Linked DNA regions of Homo sapiens: regions 1, 3 and 4 are each linked to region 2. Evidence: promoter capture Hi-C in 16 types of primary human blood cells and fetal thymus (Javierre and others, 2016). All regions are on one chromosome and are shown on one strand. The core of a region is centred on a gene start or on the middle of the fragment in contact, and the rest is flanking DNA. Distances in the headings are between cores, read along the strand shown. Region 1 overlaps GET3 (guided entry of tail-anchored proteins factor 3, ATPase). Region 2 holds the start of MAST1 (microtubule associated serine/threonine kinase 1). Region 3 holds the start of SYCE2 (synaptonemal complex central element protein 2). Region 4 overlaps BEST2 (bestrophin 2).

Evidence for each region. The method cuts DNA at HindIII sites, captures the fragments that hold promoters and counts their contacts. A CHiCAGO score of 5 or more calls a contact.
Region 1: a contact is called between a fragment that was not itself captured here and the fragment with the promoter of MAST1 in region 2, in 8 of 17 cell types (erythroblasts, monocytes, naive CD4 T cells and 5 more). The highest score is 9.8, in erythroblasts.
Region 3: a contact is called between the fragment with the promoter of SYCE2 here and the fragment with the promoter of MAST1 in region 2, in 1 of 17 cell types (M1 macrophages). The highest score is 5.2, in M1 macrophages.
Region 4: a fragment that was not itself captured here is called in contact with the fragment with the promoter of MAST1 in region 2 in 11 of 17 cell types (monocytes, erythroblasts, total CD8 T cells and 8 more); the score reaches 10.0 in monocytes.

The regions. Positions count from the first base shown.
Region 1 is chr19:12,738,490-12,743,692 of GRCh38, reverse strand. GET3 (guided entry of tail-anchored proteins factor 3, ATPase) reads right to left here. Exons shown (of 7, transcript NM_004317.4): 2 at 5,035-5,182. Among named protein-coding and RNA genes, the nearest start is that of GET3, 3.6 kb to the right of the region's middle. The HindIII fragment of the contact is 4,185 bases long and covers 659-4,843 here.
Region 2 is chr19:12,834,744-12,840,059 of GRCh38, reverse strand. It overlaps MAST1 (microtubule associated serine/threonine kinase 1), which reads right to left and starts at 1,545. Exons shown (of 26, transcript NM_014975.3): 1 at 1,405-1,545. The coding sequence starts at 1,487. It also overlaps a transcript of RTBDN not described here. RefSeq lists silencers at 1,465-1,514, 1,565-1,744, 1,749-1,932 and an enhancer at 4,994-5,316. The HindIII fragment of the contact is 9,607 bases long and covers 1-2,594 here.
Region 3 is chr19:12,917,736-12,922,482 of GRCh38, reverse strand. It overlaps SYCE2 (synaptonemal complex central element protein 2), which reads left to right and starts at 3,190. Exons shown (of 6, transcript NM_001105578.2): 1 at 3,190-3,240; 2 at 4,146-4,261. The coding sequence starts at 3,226. It overlaps MIR5695 (microRNA 5695), which reads right to left and starts at 2,163; the gene lies at 2,079-2,163. It overlaps FARSA (phenylalanyl-tRNA synthetase subunit alpha), which reads left to right. Exons shown (of 13, transcript NM_004461.3): 13 at 1-4. RefSeq lists an enhancer at 3,371-3,510. The HindIII fragment of the contact is 4,677 bases long and covers 1,401-4,747 here.
Region 4 is chr19:12,754,699-12,760,055 of GRCh38, reverse strand. It overlaps BEST2 (bestrophin 2), which reads right to left. Exons shown (of 10, transcript NM_017682.3): 4 at 5,271-5,357; 5 at 5,025-5,179; 6 at 4,600-4,677; 7 at 4,289-4,441; 8 at 4,121-4,201; 9 at 3,761-3,915; 10 at 1,598-2,405. The coding sequence ends at 1,979. Among named protein-coding and RNA genes, the nearest start is that of BEST2, 5.6 kb to the right of the region's middle. RefSeq lists silencers at 2,007-2,406, 2,487-2,546. The HindIII fragment of the contact is 8,895 bases long and covers 1-5,357 here.

The DNA of each region.
Region 1 (5,203 bases), core at 1,502-4,001, 98 kb after region 2:
GGAGTGCAGTGAGTAGCTGGGACTACAGGCGCCCGCCACCACACCTGGCTAATTTTTTGTATTTTTAGTAGAGACGGGGTTTCACTGTGTTAGCCAGGATGGTGGCGATCTCCTGACCTCGTGATCCACCCACCTCGGCCTCCCAAAGTGCTGGGATTACAGGCACGAGCCATCACGCCTGGCCATGCCTGGCTAATTTTTGTAATTTTTTTTTTTTCTGAGATGGAGTTTCACTCTTGTTGTCTAGGCTGGACAATGGCGTGATCTTGGCTCACTGCAACCTCCGCCTCCAGGGTTCAAGTGATTCTCCTGCCTCAGCTTCCTGAGTAGCTGGGATTACAGGCATGCGCCACCACCCCAGCTAATTTTGTATTTTTAGTAGAGACGGGGCTTCTCTATGTTGGTCAGGCTGGTTTTCAACTCCCAACCTCAGGTGATCCACCCACCTCAGCCTCCCAAAATGCTGGGATTACAGGTATGAGCCACCATGCCCGGCCAATGCCTCCCTCTTTATCTTCCTCCTCTGTCACCTCTTCTTGGTAACTTCATGGGTCCCATGGGGAAGTACCCAACTCGCTGGCCTTAGGGGTCATTCCCTGTTGGGGAGCTTGCCCACTCATCACTGCACCCTCTTCTTATGCTTCATATATTTTAAGCTTCTTTGGACTACTTCATCCCCTCACCTGGCCCCTGTAAACTGTCAGTGTTCCTCTTGGCTGGCACCCTTATCCAGCCCAGCCTCCACAGGTTCCCTCTGCAAACACTCCCTTTCCCCTTGCTGTTGGCAAAATCCCCCACTCTGGTTACTTCCAGCTTTTTTTTTCTTTCTTTTAGAGATAGCGTCTTGGCCGGGCGCGGTAGCTCACACTTGTAATCCCAGTGTATTAGGAAGCCAAGCCAGGCAGATCATTTGAGGTCAGGAGATTGAAAACAGCCTGGCCAACATGTTGAAACCCCGTCTCTACTAAAAAAAAATACAGGCCAGGCGCGGTGGCTCACGCCTGTAATCCCAGCACTTTGGGAGGCCAAGGCGGGTGGATCACGAGGTCAGGAGATCGAGACCATCCTGGTTAACATGGTGAAACCCCGTCTCTACTAAAAATACTAAAAATTAGCCGGGCATGGTGGCATGCACCTGGAGTCCCAGCTACTCGGGAGGCTGAGGCAGGAGAATCACTTGAAATCGGGAGGAAGAGGTTGCAGTGAACCGAGATTGCGCCACTGCACTCCATCCTGGGCGACAGAATAAGACTCCGTCTCAAAACAAACAAAAAAAACCCCCCCAAAACAAAAATTAGCCGGATGTGGTGGCGGGCGCCTGTAATCACAGCTACTTGGGAGGCTGAGGCAGGAGAATCGCTTAAACTCAGGAGGTAGAGGTTGCAGTGAGCTGAGATCACACCACTGCACTCCAGCCTGGGTGACAGAGTGAAACTCAGTCTCAAAAAAAAAAAAAAAAAAGATACCATCTCATACATAGCTCATTGCAGCCTCAAACTCTTAGGCTCAAATGATCCTCCTGCCTCAACCTACCAACTTACTGGGACTATAGGCACACACCACCATGCCCAGCTAATTTTGTTTGTTTTTTGTAGAGAAAGGGTCTCCCTTTGTTGCCCAGGCTGGTCTTGAACTCCTGACCTCACGTGATCCTCTTGTCTCAGTCTCTGCAAGCACTGAAATGATAGGTATGGCTTTCTAGCTCTTTAGTATCACTGCACTTGAGGGCCGAACACTCCTGAAGAGTATTCCCATCTTGCTCCTCACCCTTTTGGAGACGGAGTCTCGCTCTGTCATCCAGGTTGGAGTACAGTGGCACAATCTCGACTCACTGTGACCTCCGCCTCCCAGGTTCAAGCAATTCTTTGCCTCAGCCTCCCGAGTATCTGGGATTACAGGCGCCCACCACCAGGCCCAACTAATTTTTTTTTTTTGAGATGGAGTGTCGCTCTGTATCCCAGGCTGGAGTGCAGTGGCATGATCTCGGCTCACTGCAACCTCCGTCTCCCAGGTTCAAGCAATTCTCCTGCCTCAGCCTCCCGTGTAACTGGGACTACAGGTGCCGGCCACCACGCAAGGCTAATTTTTGTATTTTTAGTAGAGACGGGGTTTCACCATATTGGTCAGGCTGGTCTCGAACTCCCGACCTCAGGTGATCTGCCCGCCTCAGCCTCCCAAAGTGCTGGGATTACAGGCGTGAGCCACCGTGCCTGGCTTATTTTTGTATTTTTTTTTTTGAGATGGAGTCTTGCTCTGTCACCCACGCTGGAGTGCAGTGGCGCGATCTAGGCTCACTGTAAGCTCCACCTCCCGCGTTCACGCCATTCTCCTGCCTCAGCCTCCCGAATAACTGGGATTAAAGGCACCCGCCATCACGCCCGGCTAACTTTTTGTATTTTTAGTAGAGATGGGGTTTCACCCTGTTAGCCAGGCTGGTCTCAATCTCCTGACTTTGTGATCCGCCCACCTCGGCCTCCCAGAGTGCTGGGATTACAGGCGTGAGCCACCATGCCCAGCTAATTTTTGTATTTTTAGTAGAGATGGAGTTCCACCATCTTGGCTAGGCTGGTCTTTAACTCCTGACCTTCTGATCCACCTGCCTCAGCCTCCCGAAGTGCTGGGATTACAGGCATGAGCCACCACGCCCGCCCTTGCTCCCCTCTTCTGAACACAAATCTCCAATGGGCACTTGATGATCCAGACAATTCTGGTTCCCCCTGCTACCTTAATAAGTGTTTATGTGGTATTTTCTCCCTCCTCAAACTTCTATCCCATTCACTGCTGAGACCCTTGCCTGTTCCTTGGTGAGAAAGAGAAGCCATTGGCTGCCAACACCCTCATCTCTGCCCGGGAAGTGCCCCAATTCCTCCTGTTTCCCTCCCAGTCCCTGACCCTGGCAGCGCCCAAGTTCTGGGTCTGTATGCTGGATGGAGCTCATCCCACCTGAGGACTGTCCTCTGCCAGCATCCTCACTCTGCAGCATCTCTTTATTTTATTTTATTTTTATTTATTATTTTTTGTTGAGTCTCGCTCCGTTGTTCAGGCTGTAAAGCAGTGGCGCGATCTCGGCTCACTGCAAGGTCCACTTCCCGCGTTCACGCCATTCTCCTGCCTCAGCCTCCGGAGTAGCTGGGACTACAGGTGCCCGCCACCATACCTGGCTAATTTTTTTGTATTTTTAGTAGAGATGAGGTTTCACCGTGTTAGCCAAGATGGTCTCAGTCTCTTGACCTTGTGATCTGCCCGCCTCAGCCTCCCAAAGTGCTGAGATTACAGATGTGAGCCACCGTGCCCGGCCTTTATTATTTTTTTGAGACAGAGTGTTGCTCTGTCGCCCAGGCTGGAGTGCAGTGGCGCGATCTCAGCTCACTGCAAGCTCCGCCTCCGGGGTTCACGCCACTCTCCTGCCTCAGCCTCCTGAGCAGCTGGGACTAAAGGCGCCTGCCACCATGCCCAGCTATTTTTTGTATTTTTAGTAGAGATGGGCTTTCACCGTGTTAGCCAGGAGGGTCTTGATCTCCTGACCTTGTGATCCACCCGCCTCGGTCTCCCACAGTGCTGGGATGACAGGAGTGAGCCACTGCGCCCAGCCAATTTTTTTTTTTTTTGAGACGTGAGAAAACCTCGTCTCTACTAAAAATACAAAAATTAGCCGGGCATGGTGGTAGGCACCTGTAATCCCAGCAACTCCGGAGGCTGAGGCAGGAGAATCTCTGCTTCCTGGGTTCTAGCGATTCTCCTACCTTAGCCTTCTGAGTAGCTGGTATTACAGGCACCTGCCACCATGCCCAGCTAATTGGTTTATATTTTTAGTAGTGATGGGGTTTCACCATGTTGGCCAGGCTGGTCTCAAACTCTTGACCTCAAGTGATCCGCCCACCTTGGCTTCTCAAAGTGCTAGGATTACAGGAATGAGCCACCATGCCCAGCCCTCACACAGCTTTAAATGCCACCCTTGAGACAGTGACTTCCAAATCAATGCCAACCTCCTCTGGGCTCCAGACTCACATAAACAAGCTACTGTCATGATGTTTACACTTGGATTTCCAGTGGGCAACTCAGATTCACTGTGGACAAAATGAAATTCTTTATTTGTTCATTCTAAACCTACTCCTTTCCTAGTTTTCCCCATCCCAGCTGCTCAGAGAGACAAGAAAGACATGTAATCAATTCATTTCTTTTTCTCACCCAAGTAATCTTACTGGTTTACTTCCAAAATACATCCCTGGTGCGATGTGGTGGCTCATGCCTGTAATCCCAGCACTGTGGGAGGCCGAGGCAGTCAGATCACTTGAGGTCAGGAGTTTGAGACCAGCCTGGCCAATATGGTGAAAACCTGTCTCCTAAAAAAAACAAAATTAACAGGCAGTGGTGGCGCAAGCCTGTAGTGCCAGCTACTCGGGAGGCTGAGGCAGGAGCATTGCTTGAACCTGGGAGGCGGAGGTTGCAGTCAGCCTAGATCGGGTTACTGCACTCCAGCCTGGGAGACAGAGGAGTCTTGAGTGTCTAAAAAAAAAAAAAACCTCAAGTCTGACTACTTCTCCCCCAACATTCTGCCTCCACCAGAGTCCAGGATGTTGTCATCTCTCAACTGGTTACACCCCCAATCTCCTTGTTAGTTTCCCTGCTTCTACCCTGACTGACAATTAAATCTCCACCTGGCCGTCAAAGGGTACTTTTCAAACATGAATTTGGCCACGACATTGCCCTGCTTAAAACAAACAGCTTCCCGTTAATAACCTGGAGTCAATGCCAAACTTCTTAGTGGCCCATAAGGTCCCACACCATGTGGCTCTGATTGGTCTCTCCAACTTCTCCTTCCCCTACCCTGGCTCACTAAGCTTCAGGCACTCTGGTGTGCTTCCTGCTCTGCAATTCCTCATTGGTTCCCTTGTGAGTATGTTGAGGAAGGAGTGAAACACGAGAGACACAGGATATAGAGTGGATAGGACACGGTGGCTGCTGGTGTGTGCGCACAAGAAAGGCTGGAAGAGGCTTTTCCCAGAAGTGGGGGCTAAGCCCTGTTCCACTCACCATAGCAAAGAGGTTGTCATAGCCTTTGACCTTGGTAGGCACCTTTGAGAACTTCTGGTCAAAAGCATCTGAGATGTTGTGTGCTGGGTCTGTGGAGATGATCAGAACACTCTCACGCCCCTTGGAGAGCTGGACTGCCAGGCTGCAGCTGAGTAATGGAAAAGTCAAA
Region 2 (5,316 bases), core at 296-2,795:
TAGTGTGATACGTGTGACACAACGTGGGTTTATCTTGTGTGATACAATTTGAGCATTTGTGTGTCTATGTGACACAGTGTGAAATGCCACTTGTCCATAACAATGTGTGCTGTAACACAGGCAGGTTGTATTATTATTATTTTTTTTCTTTTAAATCAATGTCTCGCTCTGTCGCCCGGCTGGAGTGCAGTGTGCAGTGGCTCACTGCAGCCTCAAACTCCTGGGCTCAAGCAATCCTCCCGCCTCACCTCACCCTCCTGAGTAGCTGGGACTACAGGTGCCTGCCACCATGCCTGGCCAGGATGCATGATCCCCCCTACATGTATCTATGTCTTTGTGTGGCATTCTGAGTCTGTGTCCGATACTGTCCTTCCGTCTGGGTGTGACATTCACCATGCTTGTCCATGTGTATGTAGCATCTATTGTGTGAATTTAACATCTTGTGACACTGTGTCCAAACATGTCACCACATTTGACATTCTCTAGGTGAGTCTTGCAATGTGATAACATGTGATTTTGCGTGGTTCTGTCTCTGCAAGATCCCTACATCTGTTTATCCTGATGTCAGTGTGACATAGTATGTGAGATACCTAGATATGACATCGTGTGTTGTGACATTCTTGGATGCATGGATGGGATATTGAAACACATGTTTGCATCTTGGATGACATAACTGTGTGTGTGTGGATCGCCATGTAAGTGACATCTTACTAGGTGTACACGACGTGGTGCCCCTGTGTGTCTGTGCATGGTTCTGACCTGTGGCAGCTGCAAGGCTAGGTATGTGTGGCACCTCCCAGTGTATCTGGGCCACTAGGGCTGTTGTGTGTATGTGTGTGACATCATGTCCTGTGTGACGCTGTGTGTCACTATTTTCAGTGTAAGGCTGTGTTCGGGGGGGGGGGTTGTGTTATGATAAACCCCCCCTTTTTTCTACCCCTCAGCATCCAGCTCCCGAAGAGGGAGCCCCAAGCCCCTCCGTCCGTCCCCTCACCCACAGCCGCAGTGACTGAGCATATTAGCGCGTCCAGGAGCACGCGGCATGGGGGTGGGGGGAGGCCAGGCTGCGGCTATTGTTCTGAGGGTGCCAAGCCCCCCAGCCTCCCCTTCTTCCTCTACCCCCACCAGGCTGTTGGAGCCCGCAGCGCCAGCAGACAAAGGCGCCACAAACCCCCAGTGGCGCAGCCCCCTCCCCCCGCGGCCGTCCTCTCCAGCGTGCAAGCCCCCCAGACTCGGCCCACACCACCCCCCATTCAACCCCAACCCCGGCGGGAAGGCGCAGCTGGGGCACCTCTGGCGCAGCTGGACCGGGCGCAGCATCCCGGGCCCCGCCCTGCAGCAGTACCCGGAGCGGCGGCTTTTGCGGGGAGGGCCGGGACAATGTCTAGGGGATCGGGGGTCTACCTCTTGGTGCGGCGGAACATACTGCCGCCGGGGAAGGAGGGCATCGAGAAATTAGAAAGCGCGGTCCAGAGAGAGTCAGACATGACCCGGCGGCGGCGACATGGTGGCAGGTGCGGCAGCAGCGGCGGAGGCGGCGGCGGCGGCGGCGCGGGGAGCAAGCGCGCGGGGCGGAGGCTGCAGCCGCCGCAGCGGGCAGGGGAGGGCAGGGAAGGGGAGGGCCCTGCGGCTGCAGCCGGCCGGGAGGGGGCGCTGCTGCGTGCCGGCGAGCCAGGCCCCGCCCGCGCACTCGCCTGGCGCCCCCACCCCGGCGGGAGAAGGGGCGGCCAGCCCCCGCCACGTCTCTCCCCAGGCTCACCTGCTGCTTTTCCGGGGCAGGGGCAAATCCTTCTGGAAGGCAAAGGGGCAAAACGATGAAGGTCAGCGTGGACCTGCCGTTGCTGCCCACAAGCATTATCAACTCCCTGGAGGAGCAGAAGCAGGGTAAGACAGGCCCCTCTTCAGCACTGTCACTTTCACCCTTGGCCATGCACTGCGGGCCAAGTTTCTTGGGGGAGAGGATCCCTGGGTGATTCCTCTCCTGACCCTCAGAGACCAACAGAGGCCCACGTACACAGGCGGGGCGCCATATAAAGGCAAGTGAGTTGGCATATCAGCGTGTGTTTGTGCAAATGAAATAGGAATCATTATTTGAAAAATATGTCTTGAGCACCTACTGTATGCTGACCCAATCCTAGGCACTAGGGACACAGTAGTGAATAAATTACAAGTCCGGTGTGGTGGTGTGCACCTCTAGTCCCAGCTACTTGGGAGGTTGAGGCAGGAGAATCGCTTGAGTCCAAGGAAACACCAGCGTGGGCAACACAGCAAGACTCTCTGTCTCAAGGAGAAAAAAAAAAAAGTTTCTGGCCTTTTGGGACTAGTATTTATAGGGTAAAGGGGACATTAAACAAGATTAGTGTAGAAGTGAACGAAATCATTTTAGACAATAATTAGTCTTATGAATAAATTAAACAGGGTGATGTGATGGACAATGGCTAGGATGGAGACACATTGTCAGACAGGGCTGCTCTGTGGAGGTGACTTTTAAGCTGGTTGCTGAAAGATAAGAGCCAGCCATGGGAGGATCTGTGGAGAGAGCATTCCAGGTGGAGGGAACTGCAAGGGCAAAGGCCTGGAGGCGGGAATAAGCTTAGCGTACTCAATGAATGAATGAAAGGTTGAATGAATGAAAGGTTGAAAGAATGAATGACTCATCTACACCTCAGCAGATCTATCTGACTCCCAGCTAGAGTCATAGAGTTGGGGTAGGGGGTGGGGGGTAGGTAAGTAGAGTGACTCACAACTGAGATTTAAAATGGGAACCACGGAGGCTGAGGTGGGAGAATCTCTTGAGCTCAGGAGGTCGAGGTTATAGTGAACTATGATTGCACCACTGCTGGAGTAAGACACCCTCTCAATTAACAATAAATAAATAAATAATAAAAAGTTTAAAAAATAAAAAAATAAAAATGGAAATTCAGGTGATGGCCGCATAGTCATTTTTTATAATGACAATAATAATAATTAGTGAGTATTAACTTTATGTGTCTGCATTTGAAGAAGGTCACCTTCCATTTGTCAAGCTCTTAGGAAGTCACTGTAGGGATCAGGAGATATGGGGTCTTGGCTTTTTTCTGAGGAAAGGAATGGGGTACAAGGGGCAACACCTGCCAGCCAGTTTTCTATCCACAGGGTGAGGTGGAAGGAAGGAAACTGAGTGGGGCTGCAGGTGGAAAGATTTGGGGGAGAGTTTCAAAAGGCCTTTGGAGGGGACTCCAACAAAAGGAAAATGAGGGATGTCCTAGACATTTCTAGGATCTCTAAAAGCAAAAAGCCTAGGTTCAAATCTCAATTCTGCTTTTTATGACCTTGGCAAATGACCTTCCAATAGTCCCGTGTCTCCTTGAGGATCTTAGGAGTTGATGCAGATGCCTAGCCCCTTAGCATGGTGCCTAGCACATAGCAAGTGCTCAATAAATACTAAGTCTGGAGAACAGGCGTTATTAAGGAGGGACATGCTGCATGACAGAGGATGGGCCACAGCGTCCTCCCACCCCGTTGTACAACGGACAAACATATAGGCGGGGCCAAAGGGCAGCCCTGCCCTCCCGAGCCACGGGTGACCGATAATCCAAACCAGGTTTTCCCTCTGTCTTTGCATGACCGGAGTGAATGAGGACCAGTCGACCTGGCTGCGTGTCTGCAATGGCCCAAGCGAAATCAAGACCTGGATTTTCTGGCCACAGAGCCCAGGGTGTCCAGATCCGGGTAACCGGCCTTGGAGGGTAAGCCCCTGGAGGGCTTTTAAGCACCACCCGAAGAAGACCTGGAACCCAGCCCCACCCGCTAGCGCCCCCAAACATTCTAGGGACGAAGAAAGGGTCAAACTGGAGCGGCGGAAGTTCGGGTCTTTGGCGTCAGTGTAAACAGACGCCACCTCCAATCTCAGCTGCAGAGCCGCTCGGCCAAGTGGATTCCGCTTCTCCCGCACAGGATTAATAGTTGACACTGCAGACAGGGCATTCGAACTCAGGATGCTGTCTACATATAAGATCCCAGGGCGTGGTGGCTCACGCCTGTAATTCCAGCGCTTTGGGAGGCCGAGGCGGGTGGATCACCTGAGGTCAGAAGTTCAAGACCAGGCTGGCCAACATGGTGAAACCCACTCTCTACTAAAAATACAAAACTAGCCGGGCATGTTGGCATGAGCCTGTAATCCCAGCTACTAGCGAGGCTGAGGCAGAAGAATCTCTTAAACCCGGGAGGCGGAGGTTGCAGTGAGCCGAGATTGCGTCACTGCACTCCAGCCTGGGCAACAGAGCGAGACTCCGTTTCAAAAAAAAAAAAAAAAAAAAGAGCCTAGCTGCACACAGGGGACCCTCGGGCGCTCAGCAGTGATGCGACAGTTCCTAAGAGGATGCACCAACGTATGTGGGTGTATCCAGGCAGCGAAGTGGTTAATCCCGCCAGAAGGGAAGCGGTGGGGACAGGACTCCGACAGGGATCGCCGGACCCAGAGCAAGCCTGGGGTTGAGTGGGTGGGTGGGTGAGTGGAAGCATTCCGCGTTGGGGGCGGTGTCTCGAGCGGGAGTTTAAAGTCCCGCGTGGCGCTGAGCCAATGAGAGTTGACGCCGGCCTGGAGGGCGGGGACACACCGTGCAGGCCCCGCCTCTTTCCTCCCTTTTCTCAGAAACCCGACGGCGCGGACCCAACCTGGCTGCTGCAGTACTTGCTCTAACTTTGCCGCAGCTGCCTCCCTTCTCTCGGAACCCACTCTCCTAACCCACCCCCGAGAGGCGGAGAGAATGTGGGAGCACTTCAGAGAGGCCTAGGCTCCGGAGATCGGGCCATCTGGGCTCTGAAAGCAAATTAGTTTTCCAACTCATGTCTGGCTCCGGCGTTACCCAGACGCCTGGAAGGTCCTTCCTGCAGTCTGATCACCATTTTTCCTGCTGCACTGACCAATCAGCTCCCCTTGGCCTTCAACCTCGGGAATGATGGATTAGGGGAGTCTAGAAATGGACGAAGCCCTAGGTGAGGGTTTGAATCCTCTTTTCCCAAGATTCAGGCTGGGGATGGAGCCTGAGTCTGGGCCCATTCTCGGCTTTATCTAAACTCCAGATTACCAAGCCTGGGGCTGAGCCCCAAGGAGGCTCAGAAGGGCCAGACCCCAGGCAGGGCCTTGGGGCACAGATATCATCACCTTCCCCTCTGGGATGTTTGGGACCGGACCTCCGTATTAACCCTGAACTTCCGTACTAACCCCTCAGAAACGCAGCTGAAGACGAGCAGAGGACGCTTCTCGGCTACAGAATCCCTCCCCACCTTGGAGGTAGGAGCTCCTGACACCTGAGTTTGTCCCCGCCTTCCCCA
Region 3 (4,747 bases), core at 1,941-4,440, 81 kb before region 2:
CCCATCTGGTGGCTTTCCTTAGGGGTGAGGGGTCTTGTTGGGTCCCCCTAGCTCAGTGTGCCACTTGATGGTCAAAATTCTGGGTACTGGGCTGGGCGAGGTGGCCCGCGTCTGTAATCGCAGCACTTTGGGAGGCTGAGGCGGGCGGGTCACGAGGCCAGGCGATCGAGACCATCCTGGCTAACAGGGTGAAACCCCGTCTCTACTAAAAATACAAAAAAAAAAAAAAAAAGTATGGGTACTGAGCCAGGCACAGTGGCTCACTTCTGTAATCCCAGAACTTTTGGGAGGCCAAGGTGGGTGGGTCACTTGAGGTCAGGAATTCAGGAGCAGCCTGGCCAACGTGGTGAAACCCCATCTCTACTAAAAATAAAAAAATTAGGGCTGGGTGCGGTGGCTCATGCCTGTAATCCCAGCACTTTGGGAGGCTGAGGCGTGTGGATCATGAGGTCAAGAGATTGAGACCATCCTGGCCAACATGGTGAAACCCTGTCTACTAAAAATACAAAAAATTAGCCGGGCGTGGTGGCGGGTGCCTGTAGTCCCAGCTACTCAGGAGGCTGAGGCAGGAGAATGGTGTGAACCTGGGAGGCGGAGCTTGCAGTGAGCGGAGATCGCACCACTGCACTCCAGCCTGGGCAATAGAGCAAGACTCCGTCTCAAAAAAAAAAAAAAAAAAATTAGGCTGGGCGTGGTGGCTCACGCCTGTAATTCCAACACTTTGGGAAGCTGAGGCAGGCAGATCACTTGAGGTCAGGAGTTCGAGAGCAGCCTGGCCAACGTGGTGAAAACCCGTCTCTACTAAAAATACAAAAAAAAAGCTGGGCGTGGTGGTGAGCACCTGTAGTCCCAGCTACCCGGGAGGCTGAGGCACGAGAATCGTTTGAACCAGGAGGTGGAGGTTGCAGTGAGCCAAGATTGTGCCACTGCACTACAGCCTGGGTGACAGAAGAAGACTCTGTTCCAAAAAAAAAAACAAAAAACAAAAATTAGCAGGCATGATGGCAGGCACCTGTAGTCCCAGCTATCTGGGAGGCTGAGGTGGGAGAATCACTTGAACCCAGGAGGTGGAGGTTGTAGGGAGCTGAGATCACACCACTGCACTCCAGTCTGGGCCACAGAGTGAGACCTGTCCCCCAAAAACAGAAAACAAAAATTAGCTCAGCATAGTGGCTCATGCCTGTAATCCCAGGTACTCCAGAGACTGAGGTTGATCACTTGAGCCTGGGAGGTCGAGGCTGCAATGAGCCGTGATTACACCACTGCACTCCAGCCTGGGCAACAGAGTGAGACCCTGTCGTTAAATACATATTTATGTGTCTAAATAAACACAAGTACCCTGGAATCTTGCCATTTCCATCAAATCTGAACTTTGGCTGTGTAGGGGTGAAGAGAAAGCTTCCTTATTGCCCTCTGAAGTTTCACTAAAAATTACTGAGAAAAGGCAGATTAATAAGAGAAAAGGAATACGAATGTATTTGATCATAGTGTTACCTGACAAGCCTTCAGAATGAAGATCCAGAGATACAGGGGAAACTGTGTTTTTGTTTTGTTTTGTTTTGAGACGGAGTCTGGCTCTGTTCCCTGGGCTGGAGTGTAGGGGCGATCTTGGCTCACAGCAGCCTCAGCTTCCCAAGCAGCTGGGATTACAGGTGCCCGCCACCATGCCTGATTAATGAAAAGTGTCTTATGCTTAGGTTCAGCAAAGTTTGAACACCCAGGTAGAAATTTGATTGGACAAAAAGGGTTTGTCGTGGTTCATACTTGTAATCCTGACACTTTGGGAGGCTGAGGCGGGTGGATCACTTGAGGCCAGGAGTTTGAGACCAGCCTGAGCAACATGGAAAAACCCCATCTCTACTAAAAATACAAAAATTAGCTGGGCATGGTGCATCTGTAATCCCAGCTACTTGGTTGGCTGAGAATCGCTTGAACCTGGGAGGCCAAGGTTGCAGCGAGTTGAGATCTTGCCACTGCACTCCAGTGTTGCCTGGACAACAGAGCAAGACAAAAAAAAAAAAAAAAAAAAAAAGCCGGGGGGGTCGTCTAATACTAATAGGCTGAGTGGGGAAACCCAGCAAGGCCTATCTGTCTAGATTCTTCTTGGAGTCTCAGGAATGCATGCTCAGAGAGGCCAAGAAGAATCTAGATAGATAGGCCTTGTGTGGGGCAGAAACTTCTTTGAAACGGGGGTCTTATGACCTACAGTCAATAGGGTAGATCAGATAATTTCTTCTTTTTTTGAGACAGCACTTTGGGAGACCAAGACGGGAGGACGGCTTGAGCCCAGGAGTTGGGGATCAGCCTGGGCTCAGCACAGTGAGATCTCATTTCTACAGGAAAAAAAAATATAATTATGTGTGTGTGTGTGTGTGTGTGTGTGTGTATATATACATACAATCTTTTTTTTTTTTTTGAGACGGAGCTTTACTCTGTCACCCCGGCTGGAGTGCAGTGGCATGATCTCAGCTCACTGCAACCTCTGCGTCCTGGGTTTAAGCAATTCTCCTGCCCCAGCCTCCCGAGTAGCTGGGACTATAGGCGCCCGCCACCACGCCCGGCTATTTTTTGTATTTTTAGTAGAGACAGTTTCACCATGTTGGCTAGGCTGGTCTCGAACTCATGACCTCAGGTGATCCACCCGCCTCGGCCTCCCAAAGTGCTGGGATTACAGGCGTGAGCCACCGCGCCCGGCCAGAAAAATATTTTTAAATTAGAAGGGCCTGGTGAATGACACTGCTACTCAGGAGGCCGAGGCAGGAGGATCGCTTGAACCTGGGAGGTCGAGGCTACAGTGAGCTGTGATCGCACCACTGCACTCCAGCCTGGGCGACAGACCAAGATCTTGTCTCAAAAAAAAAAAAAAATTGTTATGGAGTATATTTTCCAAGGCAGAGTGGATGAAGTTAGAAGCACCGAATAAATACAGGACTCTGAGATCCGTATAACCTGGGCGCCCCGTGGAACCCAGGAGCCTCACAGGGGCACACAAGCGCACCCAGAGCGCGCCGTCCTGCTCCCAAGGGGCGCCGACTGCGCGCGCAGCCCGCGGACCGCGAAACTGCTGCTTAACGGTCGGCCCCGCCCAGTTGGCCGCGCAAGTTCTCAAAGAGGGCGGGGCCGGGAGCACGCGTCACAACACACTCGTCCGCGGGAGCGCAGCTGGCCAGGGGCGGGGTCGGCGCATGCGCAGAGGGTGCGAGCTTGAAGGCGGGAAAATACGGAATGGAGCGACAGGGAGTACGCGGCGCTTGTTTCCTTCTCGCGCGTGGGGCGGGCGGACAGATAGGCAGGGAACGGCTGCGATCCCAGCCATCTCCAGCGGACCCGAGCCCGGCCGCTTGTCCTTTGCCATTGGGGCTCCCTCTCATCAGGCCTGGCCTCAAATTTCCTGACTGACTGAACCCGGCCCTGACTGACGCACTGACGGGTCTGATTTCCACACATGGCGCGTGGCCGGAACGGAGTAGAGAAAGGCACAAACACCCACGCACCGCACCCGTTTCTTTCATTTCTTTTTTTTTTTTTTTTTGAGACGAAGTATCACTCTGTCGCCCAGTCTGGAGTGCAGTGGCGTGATCTCGGCTCACTGCAACCTCTGCCTCCCGGGTTCAAGTGATTCTCCTTCCTCAGCCTCCCGAGTAGCTGGGATTACAGGCACGCACCACCACGTCAGCTAATTTTTGTATTTTTAGTAGAGACGGGGTTTCACCATATTGCTCAGGCTGTTCTCGCACTCCTGACCTCGTGATCCGCCCGCCTCCGCCTCCCAAAGTGCTGGGATTACAGGCGTGAGCCACCGCGCCCGGCCTCATCTCTTTTCTCCTACCTCTTCTCCTTTCTCGAAGGACTCCAGCCAACACACATACCAGTTAGGAGCCCAGGTCCTCCAGTTACATTCCCACAGCCCTGCCCTCACCCGGCCCCTCTAGGTCTGGTGTCCTGGTGTCCCCTAGGGACAGAGTGTCCTTTCACCCCATGCCCCTGCCCTCATGGCACCTGCCCCAGCCCTGCCCGTCTTTCCTGCGGGTCCCCACCGTCCCGCAGCAGCACATCGAGGTGACCAGGGTTGAAGGGTCGGCAGGAGGGCGATCTGTTCACTCCTCATCCTCCCTCCTTGGCCTCCGTCCTGACTGTGCTTGCAGGTGGACGTGCCCCATGTGAAATGCAAAGACCAGGAACCGCAGCCCTTGGGGGAGAGCAAGGAGCATCCGCGGTGGGAAGAGAACTGCGAGGAGGAAGCTGGTGGAGGGCCAGCTAGGTGAGGAAGATCCCAGCCCTATGGGTCTACACAGGCCCCTGGGTCCCTCTCATTCACCCTTTTCTTCCACAAGGCTATGCCAGTGTCTGCTGCTTTTTTTTTCCCTCCTAACACAGCGTCTTGCTTTGTCACCACGCAGTGGCATGATCACGGCTCACTGCAACCTCCACCTCCCAGACTCAAGTGATCCTCCCACCTCAGCCTCCGAAATGGCTGGGACTAGAGGCGGGCCAGAATGTCGGGCCAATTTATTAAAAAATATTGGCCAGGTGCAGTGGTTCACACCTGTAATCCCAACACTTTGGGAGGCCAAGGCGGGTGGATCACCTAAGGTCGGGAGTTTGAGACCAGCCTGACAAACATGGAGAAACCCCGTCTCTACTAAAAATACAAAATTAGCTGGGCATAGTGGCACATGCCTGTAATCCCAGCTACTCAGGAGGCTGAGGCAGGAGAATCGCTTGAACCCAGGAGGTGGAGGTTGCA
Region 4 (5,357 bases), core at 1,062-3,561, 81 kb after region 2:
AGAGCGAAACTCCGTCTCAAAAACAAATAAATAAATAAAATAAAAATAAAGGCAAAGCTGATAAGATTTGCTGCTGGGTTGGTGTGGCCACTGGGTTGATGTGATGGCCTGTGGCGGGAATAGGAATCCACATGACTTCTTTTGGCCTTATCACCTGGAAGGACAAAGCTAACACACAGGGTGGGGCAGATTGGGGGGCTGATTAGGAGCTGGATTTCAAGTGTGTTATGTTTGAAGTGTCTGTGACATCTCTGCAAGGAGGCATCCAAGAGGCAGTTGGCTTTCTGGGTCTACAGTTAGAGAAGGGATCCTGGCTGGATTTCTTTTTCTTCCTTTTTCTTTTTCAGATGGGGTCTCACTCTGTTGCCACCCAGGCTTGAGTGCAGTGGCACAATCTCACTGCAACCTCCATCTCTCAGGTTCAAGCGATTCTCCTGCTTCAACCTCTGAGTAGCTGAGATTATAGGTGCCCACCACCTCGCCTGGCTAATTTTTGTATTTTTAGTAGAGACGGGCTTTCACCATGTTGGCCAGGCCTGTCTCCAGCTCCTGACCTCAAATGATCCACCCATCTCCACCTCCCAGCTGGGATTACAGGTGTGAGCCCCACTGCAGCACCAGGCCTCTTTTTTTTTTTTTTTTTGAGACAGGGTCTCACTGTGTTGCCCAGGCTGGAGTGCAGTGGCATGACCAGAGCTCACTGCCTTGGCTGGACTTTTATATTCAGGAGTCATCAGGAGTCCGTGTGATATTAAATTAGTAAAACCTGAAGCCCTGAGGGCCTGAGAATGCAGAGGCTTGAGGCAAGAAGAACCCATGATCCTGGGACAGTGGCTGGCTCATTAATGAGTAATGCCAGGGCACTGATGTGGGTGTTTCAGACAGCAGAGTTTGGGAAGAATTAAGCAGGGCACCATCATAAAACCTGGAAGAGGTGAAACCCCGTCTCTACTAAAAATACAAAAAATTAGCCAGGTGTGGTGGTGCGCACCTGTAATTCCAGTTACTTGGGGGACTGAGGCACAAGAATCCCTTGAACCAGGGAGGTGGAGGTTGCAGTGACCCAAGATCGTGGCACTGCACTCCAGCCTGGGTGATGAAGTGAGACTCTGTCTCAAAGGAAAAAAAAAAACCTAGAATAAGCTGGGCCTGGTGGTTGTGGTGGAGGAGGAGGAAGACGAGAAGGAGGAGAAGGAAGAAGAAGAAAGAAGAAACCTGCAGCAGGGCTTGGTGGCTCACGCCTGTAATCCCAGCACTCTGGGGGGCAGAGGTGGGTGGATCACCTGAAGTCAAGAGTTCGAAACCAGCCTGGCCAACATGGTGAAACCCCCCTCTCTACTAAAAATTAAAAAAAGTTAGCTGGGTGTGGTGGTGCGTGCCTGTAATCCCAGATACTTGGGAGGCTAAGGCAGGAGAATTGCTTGGGCCTGGGAGGCAGAGGTTGCAGTGAGCAGAAATCACACCATTGCACTCCAGGCTGGGCAACAGAGAGAGACTCCGTCTCAAAAAAAAAAAAAAAAAAAAGAACCTGCAAGAACTCCCAAATTTTACTTAGGACAATGGATAATGTCTGGCAGGAGAAATCAGACTAACAACGTTTGAGTAAAAATCACTAGCAATTTATTGAGCACCTACTGTATACCAAATGCTTTAATGCCATTCTTTCATCCTCATGACAACTCGAGGAGGTAGTCAGTCACATCTTCACTTGAAGGAAAGAATTCAGGCAGGACACTGATAGAGACCTCTCAGGCAGTGGGGGTTGGGAAGTAGAGCTGGTGGTCAGGGCGGGCTGGTCCAAGAGTCTGGAAGAACTCCCGCCCCTAGCACAGCGCCAAACACATGCGGGCAGCGAGAGCTGGTCAAAAGTGTAGGTGGACTTTACAAAGGCACACGAGGCTTATGCAGACCGGGACACCTGCGTGGGTGCCGTGCAGGGACCTGGTTCCCTGTCCTTAGGGGGCTGGGCTCTAAGATCTCAGGCCAGATTCTCCTCCTCCTCGCCAATAGGGCTGGGCAGCCAGGGTGGCGCCGGACCCCGGGGCCCGGGCATGGTCACGATGCTGAAGGGCTCGACAGGCCCAGGGATGAGGGTAAGCGGTTCGGGACCCGCAGGGGGCGGGGCCTCGGGCTCCGGCAGGCCGGGGTCGAGCAGCGGGTCCCCGCAGCTGCACTCCGGGGCCGCGCCTTCGGGGACAACCGCGCATGAGCAGCTGGCCCCAGTAGACGCCTCCGACACGCAGCTGTTCTTGCGGAGTAGAAAGGACAGGCGCCGGCCCAGCGGGCCTCCCGCGACCATGCCCGCGCCCGCCGGCAGGAGGCGCTGCAGGAAGTCGCCGGGCGCCTCTCCCATCGGTCCATCCAAGCCGTCCAGCCGCTGGAACTGCATGTCTTCTTTGGCCAGCCTGCGGGACCGACAGTGGGCCAGCGCTGCGGCCTCGCCTCTTGTTGACAGAGCAGGGTCCCAGGCGCGCTGATTTCCCTGACTCCACCCACCGCTTTGTCCCACTTATCCCCAAAGATCTTAGCTCCTAAACCCAGAGCCTGGCCTCACCCTGTGTTTGCACTTCAACTTGGATCTTCAACCTCAGTCGTGGCTCAGCCCCATTTCCTTTTTTATTTTTATTTTATTTTATTTTATTTTGAGACGGAGTCTCGCTCTGTTGCCCAGGCTGGAGTACAGTGGCGCAATCTCGGCTCACCACAACCTTCGCCTCCCGGGTTCAAGCGATTCTCCTGTCTCAGCCTCCTGAGTACCTGCGACTACAGGTGCGTGCCACCACACCGGCTAATTTTTGTATTTTTAGTAGAGATGGGGTTTCACCATGTTGGCCAGGCTAGTCTCTAACCCCTGACCTCGTGATCTGCCCACCTTGGCGTGAGCCACCGCACCCGGCCTATTTTTATGTTTTGAAATGCAGTTTTACTCTTGTGGCCCAGGCTGGAGTGCAATGGCGCAATCTCGGCTCACTGCAACCTCTGCCTCCCAGGTTCAAGTGATTCTCCTGCCTCAGCCTCCCGATTAGCTGGGATTACAGGCGTGAGCCACCAAGCCCGGCTAATTTTGTATTTTTAGTAGAGACAGGGTTTCACTATGTTGGCCAGGCTGGTCTCGAACTCCTGACCTCAAGTGATCCACCTGCCTTGGCCTCCCAAAGTGCTGGGATTACAGGCATAAGCCACTGCGCCTGGCCTTTATTTTCATTTTTTGAGACAGGCTCTTGCTCTGTTGCCCAGGCTGGAGTGCAGTGGTGTCATTATGGCTCACTGCAGCCTCGAACTCCTCGACTCAAGCAATCCTCCCACCTCAGCCCCTGAATAGCTGGGACTACAGGCGTGCACCACCACGCTTGGCTAATTTTTTATTTTTAGTAGAGACGGGGGTCTCACTATGTTGCCCAGGCTGGTCTGAACTCCTGGGCTTGCTCAAAGGATCCTCCTGCCTCAGCCTCCCAAAGTACTGGGATTACAGGCGTGAGCCAGTGCTCCTGGCCTCAGCCCTCATCTCCTTTGGAATCACCACTGACCGGTCTGATCCTCGCTGACCTCAGCCCTTAGCTCTGTCCCCAGTCAGTGGCCCAGTCTCAGACCTTGACCTTGTCCCCTGACTCCTATCTTAGCTTCTGGCGTTATCACAGTCCTGAGACTTTAGCTCTTATCCCCATCTCCAGAATTGATTCCACTTAACCTTTTCAATCAGATGTGCCCCGCAGAGCCATAAGCCCTGCCCCAGGCGGCCCTGCCCACCCAACTGGCTCACGTGATGTCAAAGGTGGAGCCCTGGAAGGAAGGCTGCCGCAGCTGGAAGACAGTAGCCGCTGTGTATGGGGCGCGAGCCTCGGCTGCATCCCAGTACAAGTCCTTCTCCAGCACAGCCAGGTCATCATACATCTCGTCCACTGCCAGCATGGACACCTACGGGTGCAAACACACAGGGTAAAGTGGGGGCAGGGCAACCCGCCGGGACCACAGGGTGGACCCCTTCGGGTGGGTGGGGACCACAGAGGGAAGGATGGTTGGGGTGAGACCTGGCAAGACTTGGCAGGGGTGGGACCAGAACCCTGTTGGGCACTCCGGGATGGTCGCCACCTGGAAGTCTCACCTGGAAACTGAGTCTCACCTGGAAGTTTCTATCGATCAGAAAGTTGGTCTCAAAGTCATCATCGTCCTCTCCGAAGGGGTTGATGAGCTGCTCAGCTACCTGAGAGGAGAGGGAGCAGTTAGGTGGAAACTTGGGAACCCCATGCCCGCCCCACCCACGAAATTCCAGCCTGGATCACCCACCTACCTTGAGCCAGCCGGCGTAGAAGAAGAACTGCAAGAGGGTGAAGATGGGCACACACAGGTCTAGGTCGTGGTCTTTGTAACCCTGAGCCGGGTCCAGGAACTGGCGACCAATGAGGCAAGCCAGGAAGTAGCTGTACAGTGCGATGGTCACCACCTGGGCAGGGCGGGGCAGGGCTCAGGGGGGTCATTGGGGTCCAAGGCTAGGATTAGGCATCATTATGATGGGGGTCTTAGCTAGTTCTTGGTTTCCCCTTGGAAACCAGGCATCAGGGCCACTGACACCGAATATAAAAAGAGGCATGATGGGGTTACCTGCGTGTACACGAGGGGTACGCTAATCCAGTCATAGTGAAAGAGCATTCCACATTTGCCCCGAAAAACATTCAGCTCCTGGGGGTGGATACAGGTCATGAGGAGGCCTGAATGGTGAGCTCACACAGGGATATTAAGTGTAGGTACGTGGGATGGAGGTGGGTGGTCACCTGGTGGGAATTGGGAGTGTGCTTTGGGGGTTCCAGGGAGGGTATTTGGTGGTGAGTGTGCACCTGGATGAGGTACCATGCACCCAGGAGCTGCCCCTCAAGGGCATTGGAATCAGCCCCATGGAGGTAAGAGTGCACCTGGTGAGGGTGTTTGAAATCGGCCTCGTGGGGGTGCTTGGAGGGCCGCCGTTGACACAGCTCCAGGGGTACAATTTCCCTGGTATTCTATATGAATGACCTCCTGGTTGGGCCCACCTCGAGCAGCAGCTTAAGGGCGCTGTTGTCGCGGATGCGGCCCTCGCGTCGGGCCTGTGCCGCCAGGTTGGAGAACCAGACGCAGGGCACCCAGTACTTGTTGTAGGATGAGTTCAGGTTTTCAAACTTCTTGCGCTCCTCGCGGGTCATAAACCCTGGAGGAAAGGGGTCAGGGATAGCTCGCCCCTTGCCCCCCTCCACCTGGTCCTTGCCCGGTCTCTGCCCTGCCTCTGGCCGAGTACTCACCAGCCTCCACCACGTGGTCTATGGTGGGGAAGCGCTTGAACACCGCGGTGCTGACGGAGCGCAGGATGAGCACGGCCGAGAGCCCTG